Linked DNA regions of Homo sapiens: all the other regions are linked to region 3. Evidence: promoter capture Hi-C in human tissues and cell types (Jung and others, 2019). All regions are on one chromosome and are shown on one strand. Each heading gives the region's core, a stretch centred on a gene start or on the middle of the fragment in contact. The rest is flanking DNA. Distances are from core to core; before and after follow the strand shown. Region 1 overlaps CRTC3 (CREB regulated transcription coactivator 3). Region 2 overlaps IQGAP1 (IQ motif containing GTPase activating protein 1). Region 3 holds the start of FURIN (furin, paired basic amino acid cleaving enzyme). Region 4 overlaps CRTC3 (CREB regulated transcription coactivator 3). Region 5 overlaps CRTC3 (CREB regulated transcription coactivator 3). Region 6 has its middle 25 kb from the start of CRTC3.

Region 1 (2,996 bases), core at 306-2,805, 290 kb before region 3:
TCTTGCATGTTTATTTTTCCAGATGAACTTTATTTATTTATTTATTCTCTTTACACCAGTGTTACTGCCAACCAAATGAACTTTAAAATCGGCTTGTTGAGGTCTTTTTAAAAAATGCTTTTATTATTGGGTTTTATGCAGCTAAGGATATGATCAGATTTGTGTTTTAGGAAGATTATTCTGACTGCAGGGTAGAACTAGGTTGGAGGAAACAAGATTAGAGACAAAAAGACCAATGACAAGATTGTTGCAGTAATCCAGGGGAGAATGGATAGATGAGGAGTTGAGGATAGTATTGGGTTCAAGAGGTGTTTAGAAAGTCAAAATGGCCAGGTGCACTGGCCTGCATCTGTAGTCCCAGCTACTCAGGAGGCTGAGGTGGGAGGACCACTTGAGCCCAGGAAATTGAGGCCAGCCTAGGCAACACAATGAGACTCCATCTCTAAAATATAAATAAATAATACAATACAATAAATAAAAATAAATAGATGGTCAAAATGACCAGACTTGGTGATGACTGAGATGTGCAGGGATGAGGAGGAAGCACTCAAGGATGACCCCAAACTTTCTGGGTTAGGCCGTCGAGTGGCGCCATTCCCAGCGATTTGAAACACACGAGATAGGGGCTGGTTTAGGAGGAAGATGGCAAATTCACTTCTAAATATATTGAGTTTGAGGTGCCTGCAGGTAGTCCTAGAAGAGTGTGGTCCAGTGGGCTGTTGAATGTATAAGTCTGAAGCTCTGGAGAGACATCTGGGCTAGAGAGATGGAGTGATATGACAGAGCCCTGAGGAACCCCAGCACTAAAGGATGGTCAGGAAGTTCAGGAGTGTGCGAAGAAGACTGGAAAGAAACACTCAGAGAGGTAGGAGAAAAATGGGACGGCATGGAGCCCCAGGAGCCAGGAGAAGAATGTTTTCAATAGAGCAAACTGTCAGTAATTTCCAGTGTTCCAAGAGGTCAGGAGCTGAAAATGCCCATTTGGATTTAGTAGCGTGCAAAGTCTGTGGTTATCTTGGGAAATTTCGGTGGAGCAGAGGGATGGGGGCTGAGGTCTGTGGGAGTTGAGGAAGTGGAGTTGAGGCAACTCCTTCATCACAAAGCTTGGCTGTGAAGAGGAGAGACACCGGGACACCGGGGCAAGGAGGAGGAATAGGATGATGCAGCAAGTTAGCGACTTTTGTGTCTCCTCCTTCCCCAGCTTTACGTGGGAGAGGCTGGGCCATTTGTTTGTTTTTTGTTTTGTTTTGTTTTGTTTTGTTTTTTTGAGATAGAATATTGCCCTCTTGCTCAGGCTGCCATGCAGTGGCTCACACTGGCTCTCCTCTTCCCAGCTGTGGCACATCCCAGCGGCAGTTAATCTTGCCACTTTCAATCTCCCCATTACCATTATAAGTGCTGGGATTACAGGCAGGAGCCACCAGGCCCAGCCTTTGGCCCACATTTAAATGCAGATGGAAAGAGCTAATAGAGGAGAGGAGGAAGCAGTCTGTGATCCTGTTCTTTGAGGACCAAGTAATACTGAGAAGGATATAAGGGGTTGGAGAAGTTGGCCAAATCAGTCTGGCAGAGAGTAAGTCAATTATAGTGTTGGTATATGTTCCCTGACAGTTTTGACTTTTAATTTTGTTGAGCTGTCTAATATTTTTGCTTGGCTATTTTGAGAAGGAGCCTCTAAGAAATTGGATTCAGGTTTAGAAATTTAGTTGAAGATTAAGTTTAAAAAGTAAGGTACAGACAGTGTATCAGTAAGTTACCATTTGTGTAAAAAGGGAGGAGATATCTGCACTCCCATGTTTATTGCAGCACTATTTACAATATGGAATCAACCTAACTGTCCATCAACAGATGAATGGATAAAGAAAACAGGTTATGTATACACAATGGAATATCATCCAGCCATAAAAAAGAGTGAAATCCTATCATTTACAGCAACACTGATGGAACTGGAGGCCATTTATGTTAAGTGAAATAAGAGAAAGACAAATATCGCATGTTCTCACTCATATGTCGGAGCTAAAAAAGTAGATACCACAATGACACACAGTTAGATTGGTGGCTACCAGAGGCCAGGAAAGGGAGAGGGGGATGAAGGAAGAAAAGGGATATTTATTTATTTATTTTTAAATTTTTGAGATGGAGTCTCGCTCTGCTGCCCAGACTGGAGTGCAGTGGCACGATCTGGGCTCACTGCAACCTCCATCTCCCGGATTCAGCAGTTCTCCTGTCTCAGCCTCCCGAGTAGCTAGTAGCTTGGATTACAGGCGTGCGCCACCAGGTCCAGCTAATTTTTTGTATTTTTAGTAGAGATGAGGTTTCACCATGCTGGTCAAGCTGGTCTGGAACTCCTGACCTCAGGTGATCCACCTGCCTCGGCCTCCCAAAGTGCTGGGATTACAGGCATGAGCCACCGCACCTGGCCAAATGTATTTATTACCACTGAACTGTACATTTAAAAATGGTAAAGATGGGCTGGGCACAGTGGCTCAGCCCTGTAATCCCAGCACTTTGGAAGGCTGAGGTGGGCAGATCATCTGAGGTTAGGAGTTCGAGACCAGCCTGGCCAACATAGCAAAACCCCGTCTCTACTAAAAATACAAAAATTAGCGAGGCGTGGTGGCATACACCTGTAATCCCAGCTACTAACTACTCGGGAGGCTGAGACAGGAGAATTGCTCGAACCCGGGAGACAGAGGGTATAGTAAGCTGAGATCGCAACATTGCACTTCAGGCTGGGCAACAGAGCGAGACTCCATCTCAAAAAAAAAAGAAGGTAAAGATGGTAAATTATAAATGCATGTATAGAGTTATATTATACACATATGTTTAATAAAGAGCAGCAGTAATATGTATTCTTATTTGCTGTACATGCATAATCAGTATTTCAAAGGACTCACAAGAAGCAAAAAATCTGGTATCGATTGTGAGGTGGGAACTGGGTCGAAGGGGAGCGAGAATTGAGGATGCCTTGTCACTCTCCACTGTTATATAGGGTA
Region 2 (3,195 bases), core at 92-2,591, 380 kb before region 3:
ATTTGCTTGTTGTTTCTTTGAATATAGGAACTTTGTTGGAACCTCTTTGTGCAGATCATTGTTAGACATTCTAGGGAGGGACGGGCTGAAGAGTTGAATGTATAAATGGAGTTGATCATTGGTGTTTGCAGCTCCTGTTGGATCACCAGGATGCCATTGCTCCGGAGCACAATGATCCAATCCACGAACTGCTGGACGACCTCGGCGAGGTGCCCACCATCGAGTCCCTGATAGGTAGAGTTCTAACTTTTGCCTGGAAGATCAAAAGGGAATGTGACAGAAAAGTGTTGTAATTGTCACCTCCTCTATTTTTTGCACTATACCAAACTCTGGATATACATTGAGAAATAAAATAGATGTGATCCTGATAGTTTCATAAGAGAGAAAACAACAACAACAACAAAAGCCCAGATGTGATCAATATCTATAAGGAACTGGAGTCAGAGGAAAAGATCATTTTAAACGCAGATACATACTGCCAGCTTGTGTTTTTTTAAAAAAATTGCAGATACATAAATTAAAAGTCCTCTAAAGGAAAGAATTTTTTTGTTTGTTTGTTATGAGACAGGGTCTCCCTCTGTTGCCCAGGCTGAAGTACAGTGGTGCAGTCATAGCTCACTGCAGCCTCAAATTCCTAGGCTCAAGTGATCCTCCTGAGTTGTTTTTTTTTTTTTTAATAGAGATGGAGTCTCACTATGTTGCCCAGGCTGGTCTCGAACTCCTGGCCTCAAGCCATCCTCCTCCTTTAGCCTTCCAAAGTGCTGGGATTGCAGGACTGAGCCACTGCACCCAGCCAGAAAGAATGTTTTCAGAGAGAATTGTGATATTGTAGTGTTGAAATGATTTCTCAAACATTTATGGAGTTATTATGGATCCCTTGCCTTTATCATTTGGCATAACATTTTATTTCTCAGTAAAAGTTGTTCTCGTCACACTGTATGTGTTAGGTGATTCAAGTATTATCTTAGACTTGCATCATCTTATATTTGTATTATTTCCCCCCAATATCTCCTCTCTTTATTACGCTGACTCTTTCCACCCTCCCAAAACTTCAGGGGAAAGCTCTGGCAATTTAAATGACCCAAATAAGGAGGCACTGGCTAAGACGGAAGTGTCTCTCACCCTGACCAACAAGTTCGACGTGCCTGGAGATGAGAATGCAGAAATGGATGCTCGAACCATCTTACTGAAGTGAGTATCAAAAGAAGGAAGAATGAAATGAATGTAATCTGAAGGTTTCTTGGCCTTTGGAGAGGAACCTGCTGGGTCCTACCTGAAATGACCATCCTGACCTCTCGTACTTGTCATAATCCCAGTCACCAATCACCTCGCATATTGTACTTGGTACAGGACTTATCTGCCTTATTTTGCTAATATGCTACAGTGAAATGTAAATCTTGGAAATCCTAACCCTCGTACCTACTTATGGAATGGCTGGGTAAATAAGCCTTGTGCCTTGAGTACTGTGTACTGGCAGCTGCCGCTTGGGACTTCTGTGAGGTACTGTTTGTGCTGCTGCTGCTGCTGCTGCTTCGGTCCACTTGAGAGGAACTAGAACACTGGTAATATTTAAATGCCTCCCCCATCTCGTTTCAGTACAAAACGTTTAATTGTGGATGTCATCCGGTTCCAGCCAGGAGAGACCTTGACTGAAATCCTAGAAACACCAGCCACCAGTGAACAGGTAAAATTTAGGGTCTAACATACTCCTTTGTTTGGTAGATAAGCTCTCCCGATAGGCGCATGTCAGAGAAAGGAGGGGAGACACAAATAACAGTTGGTAGCCTAGGGGTGAGCATGAATGTAACTGGGGGACAGTGGTAGTTATGGCTCGTCTGAGAAAGTTTTTGCTTCCTGAGTCCAGGTGATGTCCTTTGGACAGGAAGCTCACTGGCACTTGCATGCAGAATCATTGTGCCCATCCCGTATATCCATCCCTTGGTATCCACAGGCGATTCTTTCCAGCACCCATTCTCCCCACCCCCGGCCAATACCAAAATCCATAGATGTTGAAGTCCCTTATATAAAATGGTGTAGTATTTGGCCGGGCATGGTGGCTCATGCCTGTAATCCCAGCACTTTGGGAGGCTGAGGTGGGTAGTTCACGAGGTCAGGAGATTGTGACCATCCTGGCTAACACGTGAAACCCCGTCTCTACTAAAAATACAAAAAATTAGCCAGGCTAGGTGGTAGATGCCTGTAGTCCCAGCTACTTGGGAGGCTGAGGCAGGAGAATGGCATGTACCCAGGAGGCGGAGCCTGCATTGAGCCAAGATCGCACCACTGCACTCCAGCCTGGGCGACAGAGCGAGACTCCGTCTCAAAAAATAATAATAAATAAATAAATAAATAAATAAATAAATAAAATGTTGTAGTATTTGCATATACTTACGTTCTCCCATATACTTTAAATCATCTCTAGACTACTTATAATACCTACTACAATATAAATGCTGTGTAAATAGTTGTTACTGTATTTTTAAAATTTGTATTATTTTGTATTGTTGTATTTTTTTTTCAAACAGTTTCAGGGTTGGTTGAAACCATGAATGTGTAGGGTTCACTGCAATTTATTGAATATTATATATTTTGAATTCTGTTACATGCCTTGGTAGATAGAAGAAAAGTACAGAATGTGGCTCCTAAACTCAGTGAACCCATGGTCTTGTTGGGGAAATGTGACATATATACCTGAAACAGTGATGAACTGTTTCAAAATTAACTATGTTACTGACTGAAAAATAAGAGAAGTTTCAGGAAAGAGGCCAGTGAAGCAGTGCATTAGGAAGCTTCCTAAAAGAAGTGGAACCGGAGCCAGATGTATAAAGGTGGAAAGGATTTGGGTGTGCATGTAAGACAAGAGAGGGCATTCGAGGCAGGAGAGCGATGTGAACAAAGGTACAAAGGAGGGAAGAGCATGATGCGACTAGACTACATGTCTAGAATGGAGCTGTGGGTGGAGGTGAGTAGTGAGAAATAAAACATGAGACCAAATTATTTAGAACTCACAAACTAGATGGGAATTTGTCACTGCAGAGATAAGGAATAAAGAGCCTCTGTAAGGTTGAAGACCATTTAATAAAAGTTAATTAATTCAGCAGTGCTATTAGAGCAGATGTAGTTGAGTCATATAGGTGTGTGATAAGGTCCAGTGGGGTGGGCAGATGGTTGGGTCCTGGCATTTTGTAGGGTTGG
Region 3 (3,083 bases), core at 352-2,851:
TTTTGATATATGGACACACCCATGAAACCATCACCACAATCAAGATAATGAACATGTCCATCATTCCCAAAAGTTTCCTCCCGCCCCTCCCTGCCCCCTTCCCCAAGCAAGCACTGATCTGTTTTCCAAATACGTCTTTAATGCTACAAGGGCTCACACACCTCCCCACCTTAGAAAATGGAGTATGATCAACATGATTGATCCTTTCCTTGATTCAGCATTATCACCAACACGATGGAAAGTGATCTCAGATGTCATGAGGATGCATGATTGTTTGCCCTGATCACTAAACGGCCCATTGTTGTGCTGGCATACTGGGCAGTTTCAAGTTTGGGAGTTTTCTCCCTCACTGCTAGCTGTCTCAGAGCTTAGTTCCCAGCAGACAACTCTTGCTGCCTCGAACCCTGGCACACTAACCACCATCCTGTGACGTTCCCACTCCTCATTCTGCGACAGTGGTTCTTTGCTGGGAGAGATTTTTGTCTCCCAAGGGACATTTGGCAATACCTGGAGATCTTTTTGGTTGTCATCATGGGAGCGGGAATGCTACTAGCAGCTAATGTTTAGTGACTAGGGATGCGACTGAACATCCTGCAATGTAGAGTGCAGTGTCCCCTACAGAGAATTATCCGACCCAAGATGTTGATAATGCCAAGGTTGAGAAACCCTGTTCAGGATGACAAACTGATTGAAAACTCAACAAGGGGACCGGGCGTGGTGGCTCACGCCTAATAATCCCAGCACTTAGGGAGGCCGAGGTGGGTGTATCACTTAAGGTCAGGAGTGCGAGACCAGCCTGGCCAACATGGCAAAACCCCATCTCTACTAAAAATACAAAAAAAAAAAAAAAAAATACGAGTGGCGTAAGCCTGTAATCCCAGCTACTTGGGAGGCTGAAGCATGAGAATCGCCTGAACCCAGAAGGCAGAGGTTGCAGTGAGCTGTGATCAGGCCATTGCATTCCAGCCTGGGCAACAGAGCGAGACTCTTGTCTAGAAAAAAAAAAAACAAACCCATAAAACAAACAAACAAAAAAAACTATGAGGATTGAGTGATTCACATTTCTGAATCGAGAGAGAGAAGGATGGGCAGCAGGCTTGTTGAAGCTGGAAGGCCAGGGAGGTCGCAGACTGAGGAAGACCCTGGTGTGTCCCAGGTACCTCCATGCAACCCTACTAGAGAGGTGGTCTCTGGCTTCCTATGGACAAGCTCTAAGGGACCCAGCTATGGGGCACCAGAGCCCAGCGTTCAGCAGCTGCTCAATGAATGTCTGCCAGGCGAGACTGCACCCAAAGCATTTATTAGGTACATAATTGTGGCAGCACTGGCTGGCCATGGAAGGCAAGGCAGAACACAAGGAGCTGGAGCTGGCGGAAGGAAGTCATTAAGTCAGCCAGTGGCTGGGATGCAGCAAAGCCAGGCAGAAGGTAAGTGCAGACCCACCCCAATAAATGAGGAAAATGAGAAGGGCTGGCTGGCCATGTTAGGATCCAGTTCCAGTGCGACCAGATATGTCACCACCACATCACTTTTAGCTCCTCCCCCCACCCACAGACACCCTGTTTGCCTGTCATATAAAGAAGGTTTTCCCAAAGTGGTTTAGCCAGAACTGGAAGGGCCCCGCCCTGTGAAGGGATAGGAGCCTGACTGTTGCAGCTGCAGTGAGTGGCGGGGAAGCAGCAGCGGCCAGGATGAATCCCAGGTGCTCTGGAGCTGGATGGTGAAGTATGGACATGCTTTATTCGATTTTGCATTGACTTAAAGGTTTAATTATTTTAGGAGTTCTTGTAGACATTCCTGAAAAATGCAGGTAGGCAAAAAGAAGAAAACAAAGATCGCAAATGTGACCCTTTCATTCGGAGAGAACACCAATGGAATTTTGTTGTGCACCCTTCTATGCACGTCTGAATGTTGTGTAGACATTCTGCTTACAACTAGGTGTGGGTGCTGCTGCCGAAGGCTTTATTTGCTGTGCCTGAGGTGGACCAGAGATTTCAGAGAAGACTCCCAGAGCACCCCAAGGAGACAACAGGAGTGCTTGGAGTCAGGATGACTGGGTGGATTTAGGACTATGTGATTCTCAGGAGCCTCTCTGGATTAGCCCCAAATCAAGGATAAAGAGAGGCCTAGCTGGACTCTTCCTCCCAGAGCCCTGCTGGGAAAATGGAGCCCCTTTACAGCCCCCACTTACCCATCAGGCCCTGCTCCTCTCACTCATCTCCAGACTTCTGTCACATGCCCAAGTCCTGCTAACTGCTGTGTAAAACTGGTAAGGTGGGATCCAGAGGACCTTGGGCCCCTAGGGCCCCAGGTCAGGAGACCTGGGCTCCAGGGCCAGTTGAGAGTGATAAAGAGAACAATACCTGCCCACAGGACTTGTTGCAATGAGATAAAGGCAGAAGTCACCAGTTGTGGTCAAATGGGATTTTTTTCCAGAGAAGTCTCACAGAGAGTGGCTTTCAAATTCTTTTTAGCAGCAGAATTGTTGTAAAATACAATCTCATGTGAAACCCTAAAATGTGAGACACTCTGGGTGAAGCAGAGAGAGGTGCTCAACTGCCCAATCCTGTCCTCATTCCTCCCTCTCAGGGAGGCACCTCTGAGAACCCACTTTAAAGAATTTTGCCTTATGCAGATTGAAGAGGCAAGCTGGCTGGAAGAAACTGGGAAGCTCCACTTCCCACCGCCTCTGCCTGGGTGGCAGTCATCTGAGCCTAGGCTAGCCCCTCCCCCTCCAAAGACCCACTGCGGGCTCCCCTGGGGCCAGTCTCCAGGATGGGTGGGGCACCTGAAGCAGCAAGTATTGCTATTTTTCTGGGCTGACCTTTCTTCTAGGCCTGAGGACAAGTGGGTAGGTGGGGCCAGCCCTGTCCCTGTTTCCCCTCAATGGAGTTCTCTTGCTCACAGCCTAAGGAAGAAGCGTGAGTCACTTCCTGCCTCAGTCTGACTGCTGGAGTATTGTTCTCCCAACTGTGGCTGGCGCTACCCAGTGTGGCCCCTACAAGTCTTAGTTCCTTGGCGGAGGGGAAGTCCCCACTTTGGGACAAGGCCAACTGGACTTATCTTCCCGCTCAACTTTGAGG
Region 4 (2,982 bases), core at 87-2,586, 270 kb before region 3:
CCTCATTATGTGAGATTTATTGGCCCAGCCTAGGATTTGGCTTTTGACAACCAAAAAGGTTGCCCTTTGTGATACCAGTCTCAAAAATGTTAAGAACGTACCCCAAGCATCTCTTTAAAAAGGATTTTGGATTTATTGACCATGAATTTATCTACAATCTGTTTCTGCTTTCATTTGTATCATTTAGGGACTGATGATTTGTATGTTTTCCACTTGTATTTACATAGCATTCCTTTTTTCCTCTTTAACTCAGGGGTTACACACTCTGAATGTCTAAAATGATGAGTCAGTGAAATGGTTTGTGTGTAAGGATTCATAGTAAGAGAGTGGGTGTCCCATCTACAGGGAGCAGCCATGCTCAACTTGAGCCTGAGATGAGTGCGGCTCATTGTGGCCAAGATATTTTGATTTATGGGTGGGTGCGGTGGCTCACATGCCTGTAATCCCAGCACTTTGGGAGGCTGAGGTGGGCTGATCACCTGAGGTCAGGAGTTTGAGACCAGCCTGGCCAACATGGTGCAACCCCGTCTCTACTAAAAATACAAAAATTAGCTGGGCGTGGTGGCGCACATCTGTAATCCCAGCTACTTGGGAGGCTGAGGCAGGAGAATCACTTGAACCTGGGAGGCGGAGGTTGCAGTGAGCTGAGATCACGCCATTGCACTCCAGCCTGGGCAACAGAGCAAGACTCCATCTCAAAAAACAAACAAACAAAAAAAATTCTGACTTTTCCCTAGAATCCTCAAGTCTGAATTTTCAAACATTATGAATTCAATCAAAAATTTTAAAAGACACTGTGCAGAACAAATAGGTGCCTCGTGGCTTGCCAGTTTCTTTCTTTAATATACCTCTTTTACATTTCAAAGTGTCCTTTCTAGTTTTCTGGGATTTAGTATATGAGTTCACCGTCTTCTGATTCTCCTCCCCCAATTGCATGACAACTTTTATTATTCTTTCAGCTTTCCTCTTAACACACTACAGATTATTTGTCATTATTTTATGGTTATTATAAAGAAATAGTTCCATATACTACTTTATTTACCTTGACCCAAGGCCCACTAATGTATAATAAGTAAAACTGTAAAATCGGTCCTTTCATCTCCTGTTGTTATCAGTTGTTCTTGAGGGTGAGTGTCAATTTCATGGTTGGAGGCCAACTCTTCTTCCCTTCTCTCTGCAGCCGTCATTTCACCAAGCTGATAATGTTCGGGGAACCCGCCATCACGGGCTGGTGGAGAGGCCATCCAGGAACCGCTTCCACCCCCTCCACCGAAGGTCTGGGGACAAGCCAGGGCGACAAATATCCTTTTTTACTCTTCAAAGGGAGTGTGCATTCTGAAATGTTTGAAAAGTTTTCAGGATTTATCTTCCCTGCAATTCTCCTTTGGCCTCAGAATCTTCATTTATCTGATGAAAGGAGGCAATACAAATAAATGAGTTGGAAACTAGAAACATCTCTGCAGTCAACATTTGGAAACATCATTGTAGGTGTTTATGAAAGCATCAATAAAGTTCAGTTTAATGAAATAACAACAAAAACAACCTGTAATTCGGTCCCATTGCAGGGTGTTCTGAGCATTTTCTCCAGAAATTGGCCACGTTAGAGTTAAACCTGACTTTGAATCAGGTTAGAGAGCCTTAGTCTCTTTAGCAAAAATGGACATAGAGATATGTGATTTATTTGTACTTCTTTTGATCTGCTGACCTGCTTTTGGAACTTACAGACAAAATTTCATATTATTTTCTATTTGTGATGTTTCAAACTCAGTAAGTGATAACTAAAATAAACCTAGAATATAGGAAAATCTCATGCAGTGATGTACAGTCACACCAAACTCTGCTGTTAAGTAGAAATAAAGGAAAGGAAATGGTGAATTCACCTGACAGTTTCATTTAATCAGTCCTGTTTACAGGGCGGCAGTGGTGGGTGCAGCTGTGTGACCAGCATTGTGCCGAAGGCTTTGGGGAACAGAACTGAGCTGGATTTTTTGGGAGAGGACACAGAAGTGTGCCAGGAGGGCCCGTGCTCTCACTTCATTCTTCTCAGTACTCGGGCGCAGGGGTGGAGGAAGGAGAAGAAAGGCGGGGTGGGTCTCGCTGCGGAGAGCTGAATTCCTGGCAGTGATGGTAGAGTTGGCTTCACAAGCCTAGAAACCAGGAAGTGGGGGCAGGGCACTCATGTTTACTGAGCACCTACCCATGCCAGGCGCTGTGCTGGGTAATTTATGTGTCACTTAGTCCTCAAAAACTCACTGAGTCGTTAATTTTTTTAACCCTCATTTTCTGATGAGGAAACTGAGTGTGTGGTGAAGTAACCCAGGATTCAGACCAGGCCCCGCTGATGGCCCAGCCTGTGCTCTCCCCTCCCTATGCCACCTGCGACCATTCGCAGTGATGAGGACCTTGTACAAGGGAGCCAGGAGTTGTGGGGGCACTCTAGGGAAACCCCAACTTTTCTTGCCTTCAAGCTTCTTGCAGTTTTTAGTCTATTTGGAGGCAAGGATAATGACCCCAGGGAATGTTTTTCTCTCCCCTTTCTCCCGCCCCCAGGAACACACCACATTTGGTCCACAGAAGGACTGACTTCTGATTTTGTATATTATGTGGCTGTTATCAAGGAAAGTAAAGATGATAAATGATCTTGAGAATCTATTCTGGAATGTGTGATAACTTTGACATTGAATGAAAAAGGCAAAAGGAAATGGAGGCAATTCATCAGCAAATTTGTACATGTCAGGATGGAGTGGTACATCAAACCGTTGTCCAAATTGCCAAGAATATTCAGGCAAAAGACTTGGAGTGTTTCTTTGATTGATTTAACAATGTATTTTTTTTGGCTGGGCATGGTGGCTCACGCCTGTAATCCCAGCACTTTGGGAGGCCGAGGTGGGCAGATCACGAGGTCAGGAGATTGAGACCATCCTGGCTAACGTGGTGAAACCCCGTCTCTACTAAAATTACAAAAAATTAGCCAGGCTCGGT
Region 5 (3,369 bases), core at 653-3,152, 310 kb before region 3:
CTATTTTATGTTGTTTCTTATTTTCTTTTTCAGAGATTGACATTTTTCTGACCTTGTCTGAATTCTTTTTAAGAGTTCGTACCTCCTGAACTACATGCACTTTGCAACTCTGATTTTTGTACTGTGTCTGTGTGTGATGTGCTCACTGGTTTGCCTTTGATTTTGACTTCCAGCAGCATGTCCTTCTATTCTGCCTAAGGAAATAGTGAGAAGCACAGAGAGTTAGGGGGTTACTTAATAGTTTTGGAATGTGCATCTGTCCCGAAATAGGAGCTGTGACCAAGAATATGGTTGTCGTATTTTTAATCCATATTCGAATCATTTTTCCCTTCCTTTTTATCTAGCCGTACATGTTGAATAGAAGACTTATAGAATGAGAGAGAAAAGTAGATAACTCATGAATCTCTAATCATCTGGGATAAAGCCTTTGTTTGAAATTATAGAAGGGGCGGGGAAACGTTGGTCCCACACACTGAATTAGGAACATCTGTACCCATGAGAACTTGAGCAAGAGAACTGGAATATTGCCATTTTCATTCTGCCTCCTACGTGCTCTCAATTGTTCATGCAGTGGAGGGGCAGCAATAGCATGGATACTTGAGATCTTTAAAATACCCCTCCAAGTAATGTTTTAAAAGACTGAATCAGATTCCATTAATCGAAAATTTTCATGCCAGTAAAGTTGGAAGAGATGGGAATGTTTCCTGAGAAGTCTATCCATGGGATAAAACCAATGATCTACTTGAAAAGAAATACGACAAGTACTAAAGTGACAACATATACTTTGCCTTAAAATATTATGGCAGAAGCTTTAGGGCAGTACAGAGGCTGCATAGTGTGATGGGCAAAAGGGTCATACTCTGAATCCAAATGTGGCCTCTGCCACTTTCTAGCTGTGTGACCTTGGGCAAACCACTTAGCATGTCTTTGCCTCATTTTTCTCACCTGTAAAATGGGCATAGTTCTAATGCCAATATCAGAGTTTTGTGGAGAAGAATAAATGAGTTGTTATACATAACACCCTTAGAACAGTGGTTGGCACAAGGCAAGCACATTAGAGGTGTTTCCTCTTTTTTTTTTTTTTTGAGTCAGAGTCTTGCTCTGTCACCCAGGCTGGAGTGCAGTGGCGTGATCTTGGCTCACTGCAACCTCCCTCTCCTGGGCTCAAGCAGTTCTCTGCCTCAGCCTTCCGAGCAGCTGGAATTACAGGTGTGTGCCACCAAGCCCAGCTAATTTTTGTATTTTTAGTAGAGACGGGGTTTCACCATGTTGGCCAGGCTAGTCTCGATCTCCTGACCTCAGGTAATCCTCCCGCCTCGGCCTCCCAAAGTGCTGGGATTACAGGCATGAGCCACCATGACCAGCCAAGGTATTTCCTCTTATAATTGTTCCTATTGCTCCTGCTTCCACTGCTGTAATTCCTTCTGCCATCGCTGACACCTCTATTGCCACAACTACAGCGTAGGCTTGGGCGTCAGCCTGGCTTTGAGTTCTAGCACTGCTGCTTACCTATTTAAGTCCAAGTCCCATTTCTATATTTGTAAAGTAGGAGTGTTACTAGTACCTACTTCACAGGACCTGGTGAGGATGAAATCAGATAATACGTGTGAAGCGCCTGGTGCAGTAAATGCTTATGGTTTTGTTGTTACTGCAGCAGCTCTCAACCAGGGATCCTCCCACACCAGAGTGTTGTACTCCACTATGGGTTGGGTTACAAGTTATGTTTCTTACTAAAAGTACCAATGGTTGGGAATTATTTTTTAAAATAATTAGAGTTAAATCAAGGGTATCCCCACCCTGACAATATTGCTGTTCACTTCTATTTTGAGAAGTGGGAGAGTGCCTGGAGGAGACAGCCCTGCCCTTCTACAATTGGCCATACTCTGGCTATATCTACAGCTGTTGGGATATGCGGGTGGGGGATGCACATGTGAAAGGTGAGTGCTTTGTGTGGGGGCAGAAAACAAATTTGAGAGTTGCTGGCCTTAGGGTGCTGTCATTTCTGCTGCAGAATGTACCACTCGTGCTCTTCCATGTGGCAGCCCCCCTTTTTAGTTGATTGCCCAGACCAAAGCATCATTATCCCCCAAAGCCCAACTGTTCTTATCTTGCCTAAACATATATAGATGCCAGGAAACATTTGTTCTGACTATTAAAATCACTTTTTATTATATTAAGCAGCTACTGTAACTTGCCCTGAATTTATTCATTAATAAGTATTTATCGAGTGCCTTTATGAGTAAGATATTATCTGGTTTATGAAGAAAATGCAGACACTATCAGTTTAAGAAGCTCATAATCAAGTATGATAGACTAGGAGGATATACAATAACTATAGCACAAAGACGTTAACTCTAGTGTTCTTTTTCTTTTTTCTTTTTCTTTTATTTTTTATTTTTGAGATGGAGTCTTGCTCTGTCACCCAGGCTGGAGTGCAGTGGCATGATCTTGGCTAACCGCAACCTCTGCCTCCCAAGTTCAAGTGATTCTCCTGCTTCAGCATCCTGAGTAGCTGGGATTATAGGCATGCACCACCATGCCCAGTTAATTTTTGTATTTTTAATAGAGACGGGGTGTCACCATGTTGGCAGGCTGGTCCGAAACTCCTGACCTCAAGTGATCTGCCTGCCTTGGCCTCCCCAAAGTGCTGGGATTTCAGGTGTGAGCCACCATGCCTGGCCTCTTTTTCTTTTTTAGCTTCCATTTTTAAACCTTTACGTTCAGGAAAATACATTGCATTTGTTTATAGCTTGTTCCTTAATTCTTTGTTTTTCATTATAAAAGTAATATGTGCTCATTGTGTAAAATTTGGAAAATATGTAAACATTAAAAAGGAACAGAAAAAATGAGCCATTTTTCATCAACTAGAGATTACCATTTTAATGTTAAGTTTATTTTTCATGTATCTTTATACAGGTGATATCAGTCTTCATATTTATATTATTTTTTTCTTTTTCAACCATTATATAATAATTATTTCCCTATGTCATTAAAATACTTTATAAGTATAATTTTAATAGCTAAATAATATTTCATCATATATGACTTATAATTTACAAGCATTTCCCCAACGGACATTTTAGTTGATTCTGATTTTTTTAATGAATAATATGGTAATAAACACTTTTATGTATGAGTCATCCATATTTCTGATCATAGATTTCCACAAGTAGAATTCTGAAACCAAAGGGTAGAAATATCGCCACCGTTGTTAATAGATGTGGTTTCATTACTTTTTGGCAATGATATTTACCTTAGCAAAACTTCTGACACTGATGGATTTGGATATTTATTACCTTAAGGATAGGAGATCCTTAGCTTTTTCAGATCTGACGTTCCAAGTGTATGTTGACTGTTCAAGAATGACTC
Region 6 (3,250 bases), core at 497-2,996, 360 kb before region 3:
CACTCCAGCCTGGGGGACAGAGCGAGACTCTGTCTCAAAAAAAAAAAAAAAAAAGAAAAGTGCTTATCGGCCGGGCACGGTGGCTCACACCTGTAATCCCAGCACTTTGGGAGGCCGAGGCAGGGAGATCACGAGGTCAAGAGATCGAGACCATCCTGGGTAACACGGTGAAACCCCATCTCTACTAAAAATGCAAAAAATCAGCTGGGCTTGGTAATGGGTGCCTGTAGTCGCAGCTACTCAGGAGGCTGAGGCAGAAGAATGGCATGAACCCGGGAGGTGGAGCTTGCAGTAAGCTGAGATCGTGCCACTGCACTCCAACCTGGGCAACAGAGCGAGACTCCATCTCAAAAAAAAAAAGCTTATCAAGGTATAGCAACATTAAATAAGAAAAATAAGAGGGAAAATCAGAGTAGGGGCTGGACGTGGTGGCTCACACCTGTAATCCCAGCGCTTTGGGAAGCCAAGGCGGGTGGATCGCTTGAGATCAGAAGTTGGAGACAAGCCTGGCCAACATGTTGAAACCCTGTTTCTACCAAAGATACAAAAATTAGCCCGCGTGGTGGTGCGCACCTGTAGTCCCAACTACTTAAGAGGCTGAGGCGGAAGGATTGCTTGAGCCTAGGAGGTTGAGGCTTGTGGTAAGCCATGATTGCACCACTGCACTCCATCCTGAGTAACAGCAACACCCTGTCTCACAAAAAACAAAAAGAAAAAAAAGTAGGAAAGTAAGATGGAACCCAGAGCAATGGCAGAGTGAATGCCATGGAGTCCCAGCTGCTGCTGGTGGTGCCACTGCACCAACGGGGAGGGAGACGGGGTTGTCACAGCCCTGCTGCTCATTCTTTTGCCTGTGTATCCCTGAAAATAATTTGGGAAAACGTATACATCCCTTCACACATTTTAAGTTTGACAAATACATTTTTAATGTTTAAATCAAGAGTACCTGCTAGCATGTGAATTTTAATATAAAAATGACCATAAAAATATCGAATGGAACCCACCTTCATTCATTTTTAAAGGTACATGAACAAAGCTCTTAGTTGGAAATTTCTTTTTTATTTCTTTTTTATTTTATTTTATTTATTTTTGTTTGAGACAGAAGTCTTGCTCTGTCGCCCAGGCTGGAGTGCAGTGGCGTGTTCTCGGCTCACTGCAACCTCCACTTCCCAGGTTCAAGCGATTCTCCTGCCTCAGCCTCCTGAGTAGCTGGGACTACAGGCGGCTGCCACCACACCTGGCTAATTTTTTGTGTTTTTAGTAGAGACGGAATTTCACCATGTTAGGCAGGTCTCAAACTCCTGACCTCAAGTGATCCGCCCACCTCGGCCTCCCAAAGTGCTGGGATTACAGGTGTGAACCACTATGCCTGCCCCTGGAAATTTTAAATCTTTACAAATTTAACGTTTTTTTTCTCTACTCTGCTTCCTTCAGAATTTTACCCTAGTGAAATATTTTAAAGGACATCTTATTTTTGGTCATCTGTAACAAAAATAAAAATTTGTTTTCGTGACCATAAGCCTATTAACCCAATCTAGAAAAACATTTTGCATAGTTACAGTTATTAGTGCATATTTGATTGCAGTAATTTTTTTTTTTTTTTTTTTTTTGAGTTGGAGTCTTGCTCTGTCGCCCAGGCTGGAGTACAATCTTGGCTCACCACAACCTCCGCCTCCCAGGTTCAAGCAATTGTCCTGCCTCAGCCACCCGAGTAGCTGGGATTACAGGAGCCCTCCACCACGCCTGGCTAATTTTTGTATTTTTAGTAGAGATGAGGTTTCACCGTACTGGCCAGGCTGGTCTCTTGGCTAGGCTGGTCTCGAACTCCTGACCTCGTGATCCGCCCACCTCGGCCTCCCAAAGTGCTGTGATTACAGGTGTGAGCCACCGCACCCGGCCCAGTAATGTAATATTTTATCTTGACAATTCTAAAAGATATTTGAAATGCATTTTTTTATTTTGTCATTGGTATCTAATGAAATGCATTTATTGATGAGATAAATGAAAGTCTTTTAAAATGAAAGTTTAAAAACATGGTAGACAAATATTCTTGCTAGAATGAGATGGGGCTCATGACCAATTCTATTTCTATTTTTCATTTTTATAACTGTAAGCTCCGAGAAACATTGGGGTGTTTCATTACAGCAGTGTCACACATTTCTCAGGACTCCTTAGTAACTAATCCAAAAGACTCAATGATTTATAATAAGTTATAACATGAATAGGTTCTCCAACTTTGTTGAAAGCAAAAGTTAAAAAAAGATAATTACCTAATTTGGAGAATTTATTATGCATGCAAACATTATTCACTTTCTCAGGACTTGGGAAGTAGACAAGGGGATTTACCAAGACTTTTAAAGTAACCCAATTATAACTCTTTTTTTCTTTTTTTTTTTTTTGAGATGGAGTCTCGCTCTGTCGCCAGGCGGGAGTGCAGTGGCGTGATCTCGGCTCACTGCAATGTCTGCCTCCCGGGTTCAAGCCATTCTCCTGCCTCAGCCTCCAGAGTTGCTGGGATTACAGATGCCCGCCACCACGCCCAGCTAATTTTTGTATTTTTAGTAGAGATGGTGTTTCACCATGTTGGCCAGGATGGTCTCTATCTCCTGACCTCGTGATCTGCCCGCCTCGGCCTCCCAAAGTGCTGGGATTACAGGCATGAGCCGCGGCGCCAGCCTATACTCATAACTCTTTAACTTAAAGATAGCTTATTTAATCCAATATGTTAATACGCTTGGGAAAACAGAAATATTTTAATACTCCTTTGGTACTATAATTTTTTAACTTTTATTGCAGGGAACTTTCAACATATAAACGGGGAATAATGTAATGAGCACCCATGTGTCCATCATGCAGCCCAGCAATTATCAACACACAGTTAAGCTTATTTCACCTGTACCTCTGCCCAAACCCTCTTGGGTTACTTTGACAAAACCCAGGTATAGTATCATTTCAACCATAAATACTGCAGTACATGTCTCTAACACAGTTTTTTTTTTTTTTAATCACAGAAGATATTTGGCTGTTTGGAAATATTTTTAATTGGCCTGACGAAAGAGGTGCTACTGGCATCTAGTGGGTAGAGGTGAGGGATGCCACTTGACATCTTTCAGTGCAACAGGACAGCCCACTGCAACCAAGAATGATCCAGCCTCAAATATTAATAATGCCTGGGGTGAGACGCTGCTCTTACAGATAAGGACTTAAAAAAAATCCCCATCCCATCATCACACCTAACAAATTATTTTAA

What was found. The method cuts DNA at HindIII sites, captures the fragments that hold promoters and counts their contacts. A contact is called where the count stands out against the background at its distance.
Region 1: a fragment that was not itself captured here is called in contact with the fragment with the promoter of FURIN in region 3 in 1 of the 25 tissues and cell types used here (lymphoblastoid cells).
Region 2: a fragment that was not itself captured here is called in contact with the fragment with the promoter of FURIN in region 3 in 1 of the 25 tissues and cell types used here (mesenchymal stem cells).
Region 4: a fragment that was not itself captured here is called in contact with the fragment with the promoter of FURIN in region 3 in 1 of the 25 tissues and cell types used here (spleen).
Region 5: a fragment that was not itself captured here is called in contact with the fragment with the promoter of FURIN in region 3 in 1 of the 25 tissues and cell types used here (lymphoblastoid cells).
Region 6: a contact is called between a fragment that was not itself captured here and the fragment with the promoter of FURIN in region 3, in 2 of the 25 tissues and cell types used here (lymphoblastoid cells and mesenchymal stem cells).

What each region holds. Positions count from the first base shown.
Region 1 is chr15:90,575,795-90,578,790 of GRCh38, forward strand. All of the region lies in intron 2 of CRTC3 (CREB regulated transcription coactivator 3), which reads left to right. Among named protein-coding and RNA genes, the nearest start is that of CRTC3, 47 kb to the left of the region's middle. The HindIII fragment of the contact is 6,379 bases long and covers 1-2,996 here.
Region 2 is chr15:90,485,899-90,489,093 of GRCh38, forward strand. It overlaps IQGAP1 (IQ motif containing GTPase activating protein 1), which reads left to right. Exons shown (of 38, transcript NM_003870.4): 31 at 132-234; 32 at 1,056-1,191; 33 at 1,597-1,684. Among named protein-coding and RNA genes, the nearest start is that of CRTC3, 42 kb to the right of the region's middle. The HindIII fragment of the contact is 4,223 bases long and covers 1-3,195 here.
Region 3 is chr15:90,866,987-90,870,069 of GRCh38, forward strand. It overlaps FURIN (furin, paired basic amino acid cleaving enzyme), which reads left to right and starts at 1,602. Exons shown (of 16, transcript NM_002569.4): 1 at 1,602-1,725. RefSeq lists enhancers at 2,134-3,083, 2,576-2,625, 2,693-2,987, 2,726-2,835, 2,773-3,067. The HindIII fragment of the contact is 14,305 bases long and covers 1-3,083 here.
Region 4 is chr15:90,592,456-90,595,437 of GRCh38, forward strand. CRTC3 (CREB regulated transcription coactivator 3) reads left to right here. Exons shown (of 15, transcript NM_022769.5): 3 at 1,181-1,300. LOC124903555 (a long non-coding RNA gene) reads right to left here. Exons shown (of 2, transcript XR_007064758.1): 2 at 905-1,407. Among named protein-coding and RNA genes, the nearest start is that of CRTC3, 64 kb to the left of the region's middle. RefSeq lists an enhancer at 1,609-2,109. The HindIII fragment of the contact is 6,602 bases long and covers 1-2,982 here.
Region 5 is chr15:90,553,137-90,556,505 of GRCh38, forward strand. All of the region lies in intron 2 of CRTC3 (CREB regulated transcription coactivator 3), which reads left to right. Among named protein-coding and RNA genes, the nearest start is that of CRTC3, 25 kb to the left of the region's middle. The HindIII fragment of the contact is 5,201 bases long and covers 1-3,369 here.
Region 6 is chr15:90,503,633-90,506,882 of GRCh38, forward strand. No RefSeq gene overlaps it. Among named protein-coding and RNA genes, the nearest start is that of CRTC3, 25 kb to the right of the region's middle. The HindIII fragment of the contact is 5,406 bases long and covers 1-3,250 here.